2 separate regions of the Homo sapiens genome follow, and region 2 is linked to region 1. Evidence: promoter capture Hi-C in 16 types of primary human blood cells and fetal thymus (Javierre and others, 2016). All regions are on one chromosome and are shown on one strand. Each heading gives the region's core, a stretch centred on a gene start or on the middle of the fragment in contact. The rest is flanking DNA. Distances are from core to core; before and after follow the strand shown.

Evidence for each region. Contacts are between HindIII fragments. The CHiCAGO score rates a contact against its expected background, and 5 or more counts as called.
Region 2: a contact is called between a fragment that was not itself captured here and the fragment with the promoter of NPPC in region 1, in 1 of 17 cell types (endothelial precursors). The highest score is 7.0, in endothelial precursors.

Annotation. Positions count from the first base shown.
Region 1 is chr2:231,925,074-231,927,645 of GRCh38, forward strand. NPPC (natriuretic peptide C) reads right to left here and starts at 1,323. Exons shown (of 3, transcript NM_024409.4): 1 at 1,087-1,323; 2 at 332-642. The coding sequence starts at 1,176. The coding sequence ends at 352. RefSeq lists silencers at 217-306, 387-436, 1,392-1,611 and an enhancer at 2,013-2,572. The HindIII fragment of the contact is 15,333 bases long and covers 1-2,572 here.
Region 2 is chr2:232,116,236-232,118,807 of GRCh38, forward strand. All of the region lies in intron 6 of DIS3L2 (DIS3 like 3'-5' exoribonuclease 2), which reads left to right. Among named protein-coding and RNA genes, the nearest start is that of MIR562, 55 kb to the right of the region's middle. The HindIII fragment of the contact is 2,551 bases long and covers 13-2,563 here.

The sequences.
Region 1 (2,572 bases), core at 73-2,572:
CTCTCAATCCCCCCACCAGCTGGCCAATAGGGGCCAGTGCTGCTAGTTCAGCTACGGTTCAGGGGTGGGTGAGACACCACCAAGCCTGTTTCTGCTTCTCCAGAAGAAGCCAGGTGGGTTCAACCAGGCTGAGCCGTTTCTGACCTTGCCAAAGTTCCCCGATCACGTTATCCTTCGCTTTCTTTGTCTGTAAAGTGGGATAATAAAGGGGGCGGCTGGCAAACGCCTAGCACAACTTGAGCAAAGGCGGCTCGCGCGCCTCCGAAGGCCGGCTGGGCGGCGGGCGGTCCCGGGCCGGGCTGGGGCTGGGCGTCGGGTGGGCCGTACTCACCGCCGCCAGGGGGCGCCGCACTAACATCCCAGGCCGCTCATGGAGCCGATTCGGTCCAGCTTGAGGCCGAAGCAGCCCTTGGACAAGCCCTTCTTGTTGGCTCCTTTGTATTTGCGCGCGTTGGGGTGCTCTTGCAGAAGGCGAGCCCACGCTGCCCGCGACTTGGTGTCCACGCGCAGGTCCCGGAGCAGTCGCGACCGGTCGCCCTTGAGATTGGCGCCCCCGCCCCCGGGAGCCTTGTCGCCCTTCTTCTGACCGCCGCCCGCAGCCTGCGGCTCGGCCAGCTCCTCTGCCGGCGGGGTTCGCGGGACCTGTCCGAGGAAAGAGCGGGCAGGTGAAGGGACACGCGGCTGCAGCACGGGGGACTCTGATGCTCCAGCCCCACGCGCCCGCCGGCGCGGGGTGTCCCTCCCAAGCCCAGAGCCGCCCCCACCGATGCCGGCCAGCTTGGCCCCGCATCCACCTGCCACGCGGCCGCCTTCGCCGCTCCCTCCGGAAGCCCCCTGCCCTCCCTTTGCTGCTCGCCGGGCAGGCCACACTGGGGTAGGGGGCTGCGCATGGGCCGATGTTCTCCGGAGGCTGGAGAAGTGGACCCCCGAATCCGCGCTTCGAGGGCTCCCCGGCTCTCGCCCACGCGCATCTCGGAGGAGACAGCCGCCTGCCTTCCCTCTCTCCTGGGTCCTGCGCGCCGCATTCTCCAAGCCCCCAGCCTCCCACGCCTCTCCCAGGCTCGGCGTCCCCACGACAGCACCCACCTTCGGCGGCGCCCCGGGCTTGGCTTCGGAGGGCCGGAGGGAGAGCAGCGTGAGCAGCAGGGCGCAGGCCAGCAGCTGGGAGAGATGCATGGTGCCGCTGGGGTCGAGGGGCGCACACGGGCGGCAGCGAGGGCGCGCAGGTCGGCGGGCAGACCAGCAGGGGGATGCGGAGCAGGCTGGCTGGGCTGCAGGGCGAGCAGGGTCCCAGTGCTGCGCGGCGCCGGCTGGGTGCGCTCTGAGCCCGTGACTCTGCTCGCGCCTTTATAATCCAACCTGCCGCTGATGTCATCCTCCCGCCCACCGGGCCGCCCGGGCCAATGACACCACGCACGCGGCCGCGCCGAGGGCCGGGAGGGGGCCGCGGGGGCTCCCCTCCCTTATCCCACCCCGGAGGGATCCCGCGGCTCGGCGGGCTCGCTCCAGGCTGCACTTGGAGCTGCAGAGCTGAGCGCACAGGGGAACTCCATTTGCAGCGAGCGCGCGCCCTGGCCTGCCGAGCATCGGTGCGCCTGGTGCCCTGTGCACCCACTAGGTCCTCATCGCACTCACTCTACCTGGAAGGGATACGTAGCCCTCTTTGCAGGTGCAAAGACAGGCTCAGAGGAATGAAGTCACTTGCCCAAAGTCATACAGGCATAAAGTTGGCGCTGCCCGAAATCCACGCAGCCCTGCTTGTCGCCAAACTCTTCCCTGGGCACCTGACAGCCGCGGGATGGCATTGCAGCTCCGCCTTTCACCTGCCGGTCAGGGCGGGAGCGCAGACCACAGCGACGTCGTTAGGTTGGGGAGGCAGAGGATGGGGTTGGAGGACTGGGGTGGGAGGCGCAGGGAGAGCGGGGTTCGCCTGGGCCGCAGGGGGGAGCGCAAGTCTTCCACACTGGAGAGTGCAGGGGTGTCGCCAGCCTGAGTGTTTGAGCGCAAGGCGGGAACGAGGGGACTGCGAGCGCGGAACCAAGATATTCATGCTCATGCGTGTGCTCCGCGGCATCGTATGCTCGCCAGTTACTGCTCTAGGTTCACGTTCAGCCGGTTTCGGCCACACAGAACGTCCCGGGGTCTGACTCCGCTGGTGAACTCCCTCTGTGGGAACAATGCGCACCTGACCTTGCCTGCACCCACGCGAGGATCCGCTGCTGGGGGAAGCCCGCTCCAGTATCCTGTGCACTTTCACAGGCTGGGGAGAGAGCTTCCTAGCCAGCGGCCCAGTCCAGCCTCTGCCAGCCGTGACAGGTGGTCAACTTCCCGTTTTTGACTGTAGAGAGGTCCCCGTGGCTCTCGGGACATGGCCACATATCCCTACCACTCACGAACTTGCTCTCCTTGCACTGGGCTTCTCGGTCCCTTGGACACTAAGGAGTGTGGTGGGCATTTGGGCACTGCGGTGTGGGCCGCAGAGGCGGAGAGCCCAGATCCCCCGAATTGATTGAAGAGCAGGAATCTATGACTGGCTGCTGCTGAGCAGGACGCAGGCTGGAGAGAGAACAAA
Region 2 (2,572 bases), core at 38-2,537, 190 kb after region 1:
ATTGTGAAGTTAAGCTTCAGGTCTTCAGAGCTCAAGAAGGGAAGGCTCGAGCCAGTCAAGTAGCTCTTCCCTTTTCATCCCTTTGGTCAGCATATGCTGGGTTTATTCAGTTGAGTAATGAAGCCTTTTGGGTAACTGGTGTTTTACCCGTGTCTTTAAGGTTTATGTATTTTTTCCTTTGTTAGAGACCCTTTCATGGTCACTATGTGGAATTATCCTTGCCTACAAGTTCATCCTACTGTCATTGATTCTTCTTTGGATCACTCTAAATAATTCCCGTTCTCCTTAGAGAATTCTCAACTAGGTTTTTCAAGTCATGCAACAACATGCCAAGGGAAATCTTTGCCTGACTAATAGACTTGGAGTAATGATGGTTATAACCTGTTGAGATTTTTAAAAAGCTATTGAAGAGTCTAGCCAAGCCTATTGGCTAAAAACTGGGTCGTGTGGCTCTGAATGGGGAGAGGGAACTGACAGCTGCCCTACTCTGGCTATAGAATGTCCGCCATTAAGGACAGATCTTATTTAACATTTTACAATTGAAAACTGTCCCTGGTTTTCAGATAATGCTTAAAACAAACAAAAAACAAACAAAAAGAACAACAACAACAACAACAACAAAAACCCCACCCAACTCAAAACATTAAAGAATGAATATGCCACCCCTGTTCCTGTAAGTGGAACCAGCCGTCCACGCTTCATAGCTTTTGTCTAGTCCCTTGAACAAAAGTTCAGCTGCACTGTGAAGTCCCACATCTCTGCTCCTCAGCTAGCTAACCCTCATGTGGCTGCTCCCCTTGGCTCTGACACTCATTTCAGCCCTGTTTCAGAGCCCCTTTGGTACCTGCTTCTGCACTTTAGACTACTGCACCCATGACTCTGCAGTTCACCCAGGCCTCATTGCACCTTTTCTTCCAGGTATGAATATGCTCTCTGGGCCGACCCTGGTGTAGTGGGGCCAGGATCCAAACCTGCCTGGCTAGCTCTGTTCACCTCTCCATCAGGGAAGGGGGATCCAACAAAATGTGGCAGCACTCTTAGTAGGACAAAACAGTACTAAACAAGAGCTTTTGCCAGTCATTCTTACCTCTTAGTGCTTCATTTTCCTTATTTGTATGAAACCTTCATAATAAATACTTGTCTTGGTTACTTCACAGGTTCTTACGTAAATCAGATGATTCTTGCATAGATCAAGTGAGGTAATGGAAGGGAAAGCACCTTAAAAAGAGTAAAGCGTAGCATTTTGTTATGGGAATTTTCCAAACCATTTTTTGAAGCCTGTTACCTCTTGAACTAGCAAGTGTCAAATGAATCTTCCTGCAGAAGTTCTCAGACCACATGGTGTCAGTGATGAGCTTTAATGACTCTCTGGCTCCCCTTGCCCACCAGGGGCCTCTTCCCTGCCTCTCCAACCTTTGCTCTTGCATCTGCCCATTCAGACCTCAGGGCCAGCCTAACCAGGCTCCGTATTGTTCCTGAGCACTCCCTTTCCTCTTCTGTCCTTGTGTGGCTGTGCTTTATCTTTTCTGACATGAATGCCACCTAGTTCGCCATCTCCTGTGAAAAGGCCTCCCATTCTTCAAATGTAAACTGTCATTTTAGATGTGTATTAGGTATCTCTCACTGTGTAACAAATAGCCACAAACTTAGTGGCTTCAACCAACACATTTATTATCTCACAGTTTCTGTAGGTCAGGAATCTGGATAGGGCCCTTCTGGGTCCCCTACTTCAGAGTTCCTCACAAGGCTGTAGTCAAGGTGTCAGTTTTCTGAAGGCAGACTGGGGAAAGATCTGCTTCCAGGCTTTTGTGATTATTGGCCAGATCCAGTTCCTTGTGGGCTCTTGGACTGATGACCTCAGCTCCTTGCTGCCTCCGCTGCCTGCTCCATGGGCCTCTCTATGTGGCCGCATGCTTTATCAGATCCAGAGAGTCAGCTGGCACGATGGAAGTCACGGTCTTATGGAAGCTAATCATGGAAGTGACAGGGCATCATCTCTGCAATATTTCGTTGGTTAGAAACAAGTCCCAGGTCCCGCCCACACTCAGGTAGGGGTGATCATACAGGGCATGAAGACCAAGAGGGTGGGGGATTATTGGGGACCATAGTAGAGTCTGCTTGTCACAGATGGTTCCTCTATCAGCCTTTACTTATTTCTTCCAACCAAGTGTGTGATCTTTTCCTTTTGTGAGTCTTCTTTATAACAACGTATTTTTTCCAGTTTACAATTCATGGCTGGTGTTTTTACAATTGACTTAAAAACTTTTTTCTCATGTAACCGTTTTTGCTCATCTTTAATCATCCACTTGCAACCCCACAACAGTCTTGTATTTAGCAACTGTTGTGCAGAAGGCACTCCTTCTTTCCACCCTTTGAAACTAAAGAAGGACCAAGCCAGTTGCTCTCATGTTTAATTCCTGAGTATTTTTCTCCACAATAGCCATATAGCATCCATTGTAAAACCTTCAGATTTGCCAATTTGGCATCAAAAGCAGTGACTCATTCATGTCTATGTAACCTGGCTGGAGTGGTCCATGTTAGCCTGATTTGCACTTAGAGCTGAAGCTTGTTA